2 separate regions of the Homo sapiens genome follow, and region 1 is linked to region 2. The links are contacts of gene promoters, found by promoter capture Hi-C in human tissues and cell types (Jung and others, 2019). All regions are on one chromosome and are shown on one strand. Each heading gives the region's core, a stretch centred on a gene start or on the middle of the fragment in contact. The rest is flanking DNA. Distances are from core to core; before and after follow the strand shown.

The links. The method cuts DNA at HindIII sites, captures the fragments that hold promoters and counts their contacts. A contact is called where the count stands out against the background at its distance.
Region 1: a contact is called between a fragment that was not itself captured here and the fragment with the promoter of TFAP2A in region 2, in 1 of the 25 tissues and cell types used here (H1 embryonic stem cells).

The regions. Positions count from the first base shown.
Region 1 is chr6:10,135,203-10,141,770 of GRCh38, forward strand. LOC124900218 (a long non-coding RNA gene) reads right to left here and starts at 5,482. Exons shown (of 5, transcript XR_007059909.1): 1 at 4,746-5,482. LOC105374918 (a long non-coding RNA gene) reads left to right here and starts at 5,584. Exons shown (of 3, transcript XR_926456.3): 1 at 5,584-5,905; 2 at 6,419-6,514. It also overlaps the pseudogene OFCC1. The HindIII fragment of the contact is 3,973 bases long and covers 2,586-6,558 here.
Region 2 is chr6:10,413,217-10,419,338 of GRCh38, forward strand. It overlaps TFAP2A (transcription factor AP-2 alpha), which reads right to left and starts at 1,858. Exons shown (of 7, transcript NM_001372066.1): 1 at 1,725-1,858. The coding sequence starts at 1,775. It overlaps TFAP2A-AS1 (TFAP2A antisense RNA 1), which reads left to right. Exons shown (of 3, transcript NR_033910.1): 2 at 1,465-1,835; 3 at 2,071-2,953. RefSeq lists enhancers at 1,082-1,739, 1,740-2,399, 3,058-3,715, 3,716-4,373, 5,692-6,122. The HindIII fragment of the contact is 28,400 bases long and covers 1-6,122 here.

The DNA of each region.
Region 1 (6,568 bases), core at 3,322-5,821, 280 kb before region 2:
CAAACCTGCACATTGTGCACATGTACCCTAAAACTTAAAGTATAATAATAATAAAATTTTTAAAAAAAGAAAGCACTTCCAAACTCACTCTGAGACCAGCATTACCAATTCCAAAACTGAAAAAGCTATCAGAAAACGAGAAAACTAAAGGCCAATATCTCCTTTGAATATGGACACAAAATCTCCAGCAAAACACTGGCAAACCGAATACAGCAACATATAAAAAGAATCATACACCATAATCAATTAAGTGGAATTTGTCCTAAGGATGCAAGGTTGTTTAACATCTGAAAATCAATTAATATAACATACCCTATCAATGGAAAAAAATTATATGATCGTCTCAGTAAATACACAAAAAGCATTAGACAAAATCTAATGGCCTTTTATGATTAAAAACACTTCACAAACTGTAAAGAGAAGAAAACTTCTTGAACTTGGTAAAAGGCATCTATGAAAAACTTGGAGTTAACATTATACTTAATGGTGAAAGACTGGATGCTTTCCCCTAAAGATAAGGAAAAAGACAAGGATGTCAAGTCTCACCTCTTCTATTCAACATTATACTAGCAGTCAAGCCAGGGCAATTATGCAGGAAAAATAAATAAAAAGCATTCAGATTGGAAATGAAGAAGTGAAATTATCTCTATTCACAGATGACATACTTATATATAGAAAATTCTACAGAATCATATTGAAATTATTAAAACTAATAAATCAATTTGGCAAGGTTGCAGGATACAACATCAACATACAAAAATAAATTGTATTTCAATATGATTGCAATGAACAATCCATAAATGAAACTGAGAAAACAACTCTTGTTAGACATGGTGGCTCACGCCTGTAATCCCAGCACTTTGGAAGGCGGAGGCAGGCCGATCACCTGAAGTCAGGAGTTTGAGACCAGCCTGGCCAACATAGTGAAACCCCGTCTCTACTAAAAACACAAAAACTAGCCGGGGATGGTGGCAGACACCTGTACTCCCAGCTACTGGGGAGGCTGAGGCAGGAGAATTGCTTGAACCCAGGAGGCAGAGGTTGCAGTAAGCTGAGATTACACCACTGCACTCCAGCCTGGGTGACAGAGTGAGACACCATCTCGGGAAAAAAAAAAGAAAGAAAACATTTCTTGTTTTAAGAACATCGAAAATATATATATTTAAGAATAAATTTAACAAAATATATGCAAAACTTATGCTTTGAAAGGCCAGGGTTGGCTGTGCGCAGTGGCTCACGCCTGTAATCCCACTTTTTGGGAGGCCAAGGCAGGCAGATGACGAGGTCAGGAGATCGAGACCATCCTGGATAACACGGTGAAACAACATCTCTACTAAAAATACAAAAAATTAGCCAGGCTTGGTGGCGGGCGCCTGTAGTCCCAGCTACTCGGGAGGCTGAGGAAGGAGAATGGCATGAACCCAGGAGGTAGAGCTTGCGGTGAGATGAGATCGCGCCCCTGCACTCCAGCCTGGGCGACAGAGCGAGACTCAGTCTCAAAAAAAAAAAAAAAAGAAAGGCCAGGGTTGTTATGGATAGTACAACTGCCCCAAGCTTCCTTTTTGCAGGCCAGGACAAGTCTGTGCAATCACTAATACATCCTGCTGCATCTGGATGAATGCCTTGGACTGAGGAGAAAAGCCACTGTGGAAACTAAAGGAGAATACTACCTGGCTATAAGATAGATCTGGATGATTCATTGAACTTGTTCAGCTTATGGAATCCGGAACCCTTTAAGTCACGGTGAGGTTAATACTGCAGGATGGCCTCATCCTGCTGCTTGAAGTCCTGTTGATAATAATTTTAATTAAATACTATATGAGGTAAATTGAATGGATTTGGCCCCAGCCTCTATTGGTCAGATTGACCAGAGCAGCAGATGGAGTGGCATACTCATGCCTAAATTTGCCAGAAGCAGGGGTGTAGAAACAAGGGAGATTGTTTCTACAAGTGGAGATTTTAAAAACATCTTCCACAGGTCTCTCATGTTCCTGCACCTGACTGTCTTTGTTCCGGGATGTATAGCAAACAGTTTTGGAAGATAGTGTCTCCTTTTGGAGTCTGGGGCTTATGGTCCAGTATAATAAGGATAATTTCTCCCTCCAAGATAAAGAGCAGGCATATTCACTGCTTGTTATAGAAGATCCAGGTTTCCTAAATTCAGGGTTCTTCTACAATGCAACTCTCTTCACGTGCAGGGTCACCTGGCCCTCTTCATGTTGCACTGTGAGAGTTATGGTTCAGGGAACCAAGGCAAATTCTGGCTACTGTCATTGCTGTGACTAATAAAATCCTTTGTTTCTGACCCAAGAATCTCATGTCTTCTACCAACATCTATGAAACTGTGGTAGGCTCGCCTGTTTACAGTTAACACTTTGCTTACAGGCCCTTTACAGTTCTTGACTGTGCCTATGACTTACTCATCTTTGTATACTTCATTCCATCTGTACTAAATGAGTATATAAATGAATTTTTATTTGAGCCATGTAAAAACACCCCAAAACATACAGCCGGTCCACAGATCAACTTCATGCCTCTTATGAGATATACAGTATCAGGGTATAAAATACATGACCGAGTATAATTCATAGATGAACAAAAGACCGTTTCCAAGCTATTTATACAAATAAGTCCACAACATAGCAGTTCTATTCATTTCAGCTATCATGAAAATTTCCCCAATCCCCACAGCCAAATTGATTGTGGCTTGATCTGTATAAATCTCTTATACTGCTAAAAATTAATCCATTAATGTCCAGCACAGTTCATCTTCTGCACATCAAAAATTCTCATTCTCATTTTTCCTCTCCCTCTCTCTCTCTGACACACACACACACACACACACACACACACACACACACACACCCCTTAGCAATGAAAAGTTTTTCTTTATATTCTTAAGATTCTCAGCACACTAAGAAAAAACAGCAATAAAGATGTCTGGGTCCTGAGTTAAAAATTCAGCAGAATACCTCCAACAACAACTAAATTGAATATATATACACAAAACAAGTCACATTAAGAGTAAAAACAAGATCTCTTTATCCCATATAAATATCTGCCTCCACACTATTCACAATAGTGAAGACTTGGAACCAACCCGAACGTCCATCAATGATAGACTGGATTAAGAAAATGTGGCACATATACACCATGGAATTCTATGCAGCCATAAAAAAGGATGAGTTCATGTCCTTTGTAGGGACATGGATGAAGCTGGAAACCATTATTCTGAGCAAACTATCACAAGGACACTACATGTTCTCACTCATAGGTGGGAACTGAACAATGAGAACACTTGGACACAGGGTGGGGAACATCACACACTGGGGCATGTCATGGGGTGGGGTGCTGGGGGGGGTGCGGATAGCATTAGGATATATACCTAATGTAAATGACGAGTTAACGGGTGCAGCACACCAACATGGCACATGTATGCATATGTAACAAACCTGCACGTTGTGCACATGTACCCTAGAAATTAAAGTATAATAAAAAATAAATAAATAAATAAATAAGTATCTGCCTCCTAAGATAAAATGCTCCTTGACTTCAACACCTTATAGAGGAATGAGAAAGGGAACATGTTCTCTATTTTTAAGAAGACTTTTTAAAGCTTTCATTTAATTAGCCAGGCGTGGTGGCAGGTGCCTGTAGTCCCAGCTACTCGGGAAGCTGAGGCAGGAGAATCGCTTGAACCCGGGAAGCAGAGGTTGCAGTCAGCCGAGACTGCACCACTGCACTCCAGCCTGGGCAACAGAGCAAGACTCTGTCTAAAAAAAAAAAAAAAGCTTTCATTTAAAAAGCAATTATCAGTGGACCAAAATAGATTTATAAAGATGATTCATCTCAGTTAAGCTTCAGTCAGATAAGCATCCTCAAGTCCCAGACCTGTGTGCTATGATTCAGTGTGAAATGGCTTGAGATAGACAGGGCTGGGCTGAGGCTACAGTCAATAGGGAGCCATCTCATGGAGACTCGGGCAGGAAGCCATGACTGTGGTTAATTCAATGGTGGGTTCCTTTTACATGTAAGCGAAACCTGAGAGTTCTTCTTCCTTCCTTTTAAAATTTGTCATTGAGAAGTTCCATTTTTAATTATTCTTTCACATTTAGCACCTTTGCAGATTTAGGATCTGCAAAAGTACATTAGGCTCAGCAGCATTTGGGGTGCCATGCAACTAGCTCTTATGCTACATTCCAGTTTTTCAGAATGAAGTAAAATAGAACCAAGATCCTCCCTCTGCCTTGCTCACTGATAACCCTCCTGGGCTTGGGGTGAGAGAAGAGACGTCGCCACAGTCAAATCACATCGCTCTCAGGGAAGCAGCCAGCGTTCTTTCAGACATTCATGAATGGCCCTTTTCTCCCTTTCCCTTTCCTTTTGTGCCCAGACTTTCTGTGTCAAGAACCTGAGAGCTGTTCAGAAGGGAAGAAAGGACATAGAGGTGCTCTCGCATTTCTTCCCAGAGGTGCTGAAATTAACCCCTTATCTGTCCTGGGCAAGCATCCTGAGGTTTCCTTAATTAACATTTGTCAGACTCTTTCAAAGGAAAGGTACCAGGTGATGATTACAGTAGCTTGTCTCACCCTCTTTGGCTGGTAAATTAGCTTAGAACTTTCTCATGAAACTTGGGGTATCAAGCAACTCTCCTTAAAAGGAACTAATCCCCTTTCCAATGATTTCCAATTCTAGGGTCTATAGGAAGCAGATACAATGAAAATTTGAGGCAAAAATGTACTCACTATTCAAACTTGATTATAGTGACATCGTTTTCATACTTCAAAATCAAATTCCCAAATTCTGCCCTGCAAATCCTTCCCACTTTTTCACTGTTACTTTGTTTCTATTTGGACTATTCCCATTTCCATGAGGAATACTGGCTCAGAAATAAAACATACACTATAATTTGGCTTTTGGGTTCCAGCTTTAAGACATGTATGAGCATCGTGTTGTTACTGTTAACTTACAATTGAGGATGCTTCTCTCACACTTGTTGATTTTACTAACGTGTGTGAGGGTGCCTGTGAAATCAGCATTCCAGCACCAACCATTTGTTACCAGAAAACTAATAATCAAATCAAGTAAGTGAATCACTGAGCCCCAGAGCCTGCCTCATTCTTTTGCAATAAGGATCGCACCTCATTTCCTTCTGGAACTTGATTACAACAAACAAAGATTCAAAAAGGGCTGAGGCCTAAAGATCACCCTAAACAACTTGGAGAGCTCAACATTGTGAAGCTCAGCTACCAATATGTTGCTGTTAACTCAAAGAATGGAAAAGGAGATGGAAGTTTTAAGGTTCCCCAGACTTGCAGAAATCTGTACAAACCAGCCTAAAGAACTAAGAAAAGAAAAAGCTTTTTTAGTCCTCTGACGTCTACTTGGAAGTTTTCACATACTGTAGTTAAGACCAAAGAACAAGTCTTGGGCCCGTCTAACCCTGACCAAAATTGATTTTCTGTCCAGTAACTGCCCGAGTTCTAGGTTAGTTCATGCCCTATCTGACAAAGCGCCTTCGCTAAATACGCTACAGTAGCCCACAGGGATCTTTTTTAAGGTTTCCCCAAGAGTGACTTTTTATTCCCCTCCTATCTTCCCTAGAATTTTCTTTTGTTTGAAACCGCAACCTCAGTTTTTTAAAATTCCATGAATGAAAAACCATGAATATTTTAGAAAACATTCAGGTTATAGAAGTGGCCACATTTGTTGATTTCTTAAATAAAGCTGAAGTTCTCTGTCCGTTGCTATATGGTAAGCCCTAGGGCTCAATTCAGATAAGTGTACTGTGTTTCACTGCCAAAAAAAACATCCGTTTTCTTCTACAGTCACCATAAACCAACAACCCTAGAAAAACCTGCTTTGTTGTCCTGAAGGAGCTGTTATTGTTCAGAATATTTTACATGTAAGTGAAACCTGAGAGTTCTTCTTCCTTCCTTTTATAATTTGTCATTGGGAACTTCCATTTTTATTTATTCTTTCACATTTAGCACCTGAATACTTATGGGATCTGCAAAAGTACATATTGAAATATGCAAATGGTATATAGCATGTGAGTGTCAGATTCACGGAAATTAAATCAAATACAGGGGAGAGAAAAGAAACAGAGTGCATTAAAGCTAACTTTATGGTCCCAAGCTGTAGACAAATTGTGGTCTGTGGTAGTTAAACAACAGCTGTTCGAATTTAAAATAAAATTATGATAAGGATCCCCAGAAGATAACACTTCTTGAGGTAACAGCATTTACCTCAATGCATCTGTTAGCAAATAGCACTGACGAGCGTTGATGTGAAGGTTTATTCCCATTTCTTTTCCTATGGTCGTTCTGTCATTCCCATTTCTGGTAGATAGTTACTCTTACTGAGTGAAATTTATGTTTCGTTTCCCAGCATAACCTTTTCTTCCATGTCTGCTCAGGTGAATTTCTGCTCCAGCTGGCTGGGGACCATCATGACAAGGGAATGTGATCAAGAAGACAAACACATAGATATCATGAAGAAAAGAAAACGGAAGGTGGGTACTCCTTTAGTTGGGGTTCATTTATTCAAACTAAGTCTTCCTTAAACT
Region 2 (6,122 bases), core at 608-3,107:
CTTGCCCACCACGGCCAAAGTTGTGGAAACAGCTTTGACTTTATTCTCCTCTCTCTCTCATCTTTTTTTGCCTCGCTTACACACGCATTCACACTTGCCCCCACAGGATCCCTCTAGGGGTGCAAGTTCATCCCCCACCTAGCCACCCACCCCATCCAGTCGGCACCTAGAGCCGCACGGAGGTTCGGACCCCGCCCGCCGAGGGCGCCCACACCTGGAGCTGGGTTTCGGCCTCTGCGAAAGTGAAATGCCCAAGCCTCCGGCCAAAGCCCAGACCAGTACAGTATGAATTGTCCTATGAGACTGAGGGGTTCGGCTTCATTCCTACCTGCCCGCAAAGCTCGCCCCCAGCCTCGAAAACAAAGCGACTGGTCTGACGTGGGGTCCCTGCGCCCCTCCTCTAGCGCGACAGGACCCCCCCAGGGAAGAGCCAGTACCCGTGGGATGTCACCCCGTCCCCATCTACCGGGGTGGGGGGCCTGAAAGGAGAACGATTTAAAATAATCTTCAGAAAGAAAAGGGAGGAGGGAGCGGGTGACACATCGTTCACATAAACCCAATTTCTGGTTTCGAGTGAAGTCAAGATCTCCGCCCCTGCGCCTGCACACACACCTCCTGCCTAACATTCTCAGCTGCAAATGCCAAAAAAGAAAAAAAAAAAAAACAGCAAAAGTTGGGACTGCCACCTATTTATTTAGGTAATCTCCAGCCCTACACACCCCAACCCCTCTCTCGGACTCATTGCTCATTACAGTGTTGGTTGTAACCGTTCCCAGCGCCTCCTGCGGGTGGACAGGTCGCGCTAGGGTCTCCCTTGCTGCCTCAAGAAGGCGAGCTCAGGGGACTCTGCGTTTTAAAATGGGTTCCAAAGCGGCGCGCTCTGTCGGCCCAGCGGGCTTGCGGCACCAGAGGTGGTCTGCAGCCGCGCAAGGATTCCCACGGTCGTTCTGGGCTGGTGCAGAAGCTGGTGCTCCCGCACCCAGCGGCCAGCAGGCTCGGCGCAGCACATCTCCCCACCCCACCCCCACACACCCCCGTGGGGTGCGTCGATCCTGTAGCTCAGAGGGAGAAGCTACTTAGAACTTCGTGAAGCACAGAGGATCTGGAGCGAGCCCCGCAGCTGGGATCAGTGGTCTTAAGTTGAACCCGCTTACAGGAAGATGCAGCCCAGCTCACAGCGAAGTGTGGGGGGGCCGTCTCTAAAGCCGAGAAGGGAACCGCTTTAGAAGTGGGGGTGGGGGGAAGAAAGAATGAATGAATGAATGAATGAATGAATAGAAAGAAGAAGGAATATTAAAGATCGGAGAGGAAGTTCAAGAGAGAAAAGAGTTTTCTCTTTCCTTTCTGTTCCTGGTGACTTGGGCCCTCAATCTCGATGAAGATAACACGAGGAGTGCACAGGCAAGTGCCCAGTTGCCAGCAATTGCTTCAAAAGCCCATGTTCTTCTTTTCCCCCATTCTTAGGCACAGCCAAAATTGGTCAGAAAGGGGAGTAAAGTGGGACACGAGCTTCAAAGTAGGGAAACCAAAGAAGGGAGCATCCACGTCCTCTCTCTGCAGCTTCTCCCCCGCGTTCTTCGGGCGAATCCGAGGGACGGGCGCTGCGCTGGGGAAAGTTTGTCCCACCCGCGTTTCGCAGCTGGTTGCAAGGAGAGGAGGAGGAGAGGGAGGGTCAAGCTCGGAGCCTGTGACCGCACGGATGATCGAGCCGGCGTCGCGCTTACCTCGCAGTCCTCGTACTTGATATTATCCGTCAATTTCCAAAGCATTTTCATGGATCGGCGTGAACGGATATGCCCCTCTCGGTCTCGCACCCAAGTGGAGCTACTCTCTGGGTGAGCGCAAAGTGCTGGCTGCCGGCGGTGAGCGCAGGAGGAGGAGGAGGAGGGAGAGGAGGTGGAGGAGGAGAAGGAGGAGGGAGAGGAGGAGGGCAAGGAGGAGGAGGAGGAAGAGGAGGGCGAGGAGGAGGAGGAGGGCGAGGAGAAGGGCGAGGAGGAGGAGAGAAGGGAAAGAGCTCCCGTGTGCGCTCGGAGATCTCCCTCTAATGGTAGAAACTTTTCCCTTTTCCAGCTCTTTACCAACAGCCTAATCGCCTCATTAGCATATCAACAATAGTCCAATTGCTCGCCAGTACCACAATCTGCCGCCGGCCGCTCCGACACAGGTATAAAGGCCTCTCTACGCCGCGAACTTGCTTCTAGAGCGCACTCCAGCCTGCGAACTGATAAAACCTTCCTCGAGCTCCGCCGCGAGGCCCTGCCCCAACACCCCCTCTCTTACCCCAATTCCGCCACATTCCCCTTCCTTTCTTTCTCCGCTTCCTTTTCTCCAGAGATGCCTTCTGCAAAGCCCGGCACTGCTCAAGGTCCAAGCGCCACGCCTGGGGCCCAGCTTCTAGCACTTCTCCCTTAACCCTGCTACCACGATCCGAGCTGCCCTTTTGGCCCCGTGCAATTTTATTAGAAATCATTATCCCTTTCGCAATTAAACATAACCACCAAACCAAGACCGGCGAAGTCACTCCAGGATTTTTTCCCAACAAGGGATCGCCTCCGCTCGAGGCAGCCACCCCCTCGGGCCGCAGCGCCTTGGGAGTTTTATTGGCTTTGAGCTTTCCCCCAGGTTGGAGATTCTGCCAAGCGGCTCCGGTGGCTCTGCTGGGGTTTGCAATCCCTTAATTGCAGCGTGTAAAATAAAAGTTGTACCCTGAAGAGGTTACTTGACAGCTCCAGGGGTTAAACAATTTTTCTCCTGTTTGTGTGAAGCTAGGGCCAACTGACAGTTCAAATTGGTGTTCAGGCTAAGGTTTCCTGGGTGCAACGTGGACACGAATACAGAACTCCTATGGAACTGCACACCCGCTTCTGAAGTTGAGCCTAAAAACAGACGTGTGTGTGCCTGCAAGTCTAGATACCGTCTCGTGCGTGCATCAAAATAAATCACCGGGAACCGACTTTTAGCTGTGTTAATCTGCTCTAGTTTTCCCAAGATTCCCCTTTTTAATTAAAGCAGGGAGAGTTCCTTCATGATTTGGTGATGCTACTAACGCGGGCGTGCTCGCGAGGCAGAGCCCGGCTGCCGCGGAACCTGGAGGCCTGGGAGCCACCTACTCGTCCAGACTGGTCAGTCCGGGCTTTTGGACTCCTCACCGGGGCCTGCTGGGTCCTCTGGGGCTTTTATCCCTTTCGGTTTTGGGATTTTTTTTTAAGTAAGAAAAAAAAAAAAGAAAAGGACCTAATGTGACACTAGGAAATACAGAGTAATTAATTTTCCTGGCTGAGCTTCCTCGTTTGTCCTCCAAAAGAAAGTTACCTCTGTCTTTTCTCTCTGCTATATGTACAAACTCCTTAACTACACTAGGTCCCGCCTCAGAGTTGCTCTAGTAAGGACCTTTGATTCATCTGGGCTTGTTTCTCGAAAATCTCCAGGCCTCCCATATTTCCACCGGGCGTTCCTAAAAGGGGATGGGAACTGTGGCAGATTGGAGCATTCCCTCACAGGTGGAAGGAAGGCAGGAGCTGGGAGAACTCCCCATTCCACCCAAGGCTGCAGAAGGGGAATTCTCCCTCCAAACACCTCAGCAAACTCCCCAAACCTAGCAGAGTAGGCAGAAGGCTCCAAAAAGCTAGGGAGAAGCCGGAGCTGGCAAGGGGCCTTACAGACCCAGGAAGCCCTCCCCATGCTCTGGGCCTCCCTTGCCCTACCTGAACTGAGCACAATTCCTCGGCTGAACCGGGCTGGAGGCTTGGCGCCGCCCTCCGTCCAGAAAATGGTCGACTTTCCAGGGCTAGACCCTGCAGGGCTGTCCCAGCCTGTCGCCAGTGCAGTGGTTTGAAGTCAGGATCTGGGCTGCCAGGAGCACCGACACCCTCCCAGCAGCGGCCATAGCCTGAGCAGGCCAAACCCTAGGCCTGAGAGCATGGGTTTTTACACTCCGTAGACGTCGCCGCGGTGTGCTTAAGGGAACTCCAAGTTTCGCTTTCTTGCCCTCTGCGGGCTTGGAAAGGCCGCCCTCCATCCTCTGCCACCCCATTTCAACCCCCGTTTCCACCTCCCCGCTGCCCCGCGCCCAACAGATCTCCGGCTCCGCACCCGCTGGGGCTGCTAAACTGTTGTTGTATTCCCGCCGAGGGCGCCATTGAGGTGCAGATTGGGACCTGCCGGCTCTGGACTGCCGCCCCCGGTGTAGGCGCTGATGAAAGGCCCGGGCGAGCGCCAGGGTCGCCTCTGGAGCCAGCCGAGCTGCATTTATGCCAGCGTCATTACCACGCTAAGTCGCTTCATTGCATGTCAATGCTCCGGCGGGGCCAGAACCCCGGGACAGCAGCGCCAGGCCTGGGGTTGGAGGTCGGAGATCCAGGCCTGACGTGGGGGGCATAAAAAGGGCGTCGCGGGGAAGAGGGAGTATTTGTGTGAGAGACAGAGTCACAAAGAGAAAGAGACAGTGAGGGGCCAGAACGACTCTCTTTTCTCCGATTGTCAATGCCCAGTGGGAGCCGGGAGCCCAACAGGCCCAGCCCATCAGATTCGGCCCCTCCGGGCCCCAAATCCGCTCGCCCCACCCGAGATCCAGGCCTCCAGCCACTTGCCTAACTGTGAGCCCGCAAGAGCCAGGCCCGCGGCTCCCTCCTTCCTCCTCCTGCGGCAGTCTCGCGGCTTTCAAACCTTAGTCGAACCCACAGAAGGCCCAGTCCCAGGCCAAACCTACTCAACAGGCACCTTCTCACGGCCTAGGAATTCTGCAGCGAAATTCACTGGAATTTGAGGAGAAAACCCAAAGACTGCTCCGAAAGGACTCCCCCAGTCTTCAGCCTCCAAATAAGAGAGTTAGGAAGGGCCTTTAGCCCACAGGGTCAGGAAGGGAAAGGTGTGGATTCCCGGGATTTGTCTCTGGTATGGGATTTGCATCCTTAAACCACGAGGTTTGTCTAAACTTGCGGATGAAATACCATTTAGTGAGGCTTAACTAGGGAGAAGAATATAAAAGAGCTCACTCTTGATAAAAGTAATAAATCCAAGGGAAAAAAGTACAGAACGCAAAAGGCCTTTCTTTCTCCAACTCCAGGTAGCTTAGTGAAGACTGCACTTCTCAGAACTTTACTTTTAATGGCCTAAATCTGAAACAAGAGAAAGAACTCGACCAGGAGTAGCAAGGCCTCAGATTTTTGGGGGGAAGTTCAGGGCATTAGATTCGAATTGTCCCCTGGGCTTTTGGGCACACAGAATCTCACCCTCACCAGGCCTCTTGGTTGGGGCGAAAACAGGGCCTCGCGGTTCTGATGATGAAATCGGCGACAGGCAGAGCCTTTTACCGCCACCATCCTGGCCAGAGCCGCTCTGTTTCCCGAAGGGAAAGTGTCTGGAAGTTGGAAGGAGAGAGCTGGACAAATGCTTCCTTGGCCAGGGTCGGAATCCGGGGCTCAGGAAGGACAGGAGCCAAGCCTTGGATGCCTTGTGGTGTCCGCGGCCTAGCAGGGCCAAGTTCCACAGGCGTTGGTTTTGGCAAATTCACCACCCCCCTGCCTCCTCACCCACCATTCTCACACTCCCTCATCCGTAGCCCAGGCGGCAAAAACCCATTTCAGGAAGTGGAGTGAGTTGCTAGCTAAACTTCGGGCAAACTTTGTATCTCCTACAGAAACACGCTGCCTCCGCGACCCAGCCATCTGGACCCCTTTCCATTCTTCACACATCCTAGATCTCCCGAAATCTGGGGGTACCAAGAGAGACAGGTGCACCAGAACCTGTCCAACACTCAACCCTGGGGTCTAGGGCGAGGCCGCAGGCGCAGCAGGCTGAAAACCTTCACCGCCGCGCACCACAACCCCAGGCCTTCTCCCTCCCCCCTTCCGAATTAGTCATCCTCCCAAGTTTCTACTTGAGGTGGGAGGGGGGTGGGGGAAACGGCCACAGCACAAACCACAAGTGACCCACCAGGCCACCTGTGGAGCGTGCGCCGGACTTCCCCGGCGCCGGGCCCCGCGGGCTGCGCGCTTTGCGCCCAGCACCGCAGTCGCTGCCTGCGCCCGTTTTTCCTGTCTTCGCTGTCTCCTGGGAGCTCTCCTGGGCGCTGCCAGGCGCGCCTCACCTACGACTCCCCTGCCCTGGGCCACGGCGCTTCC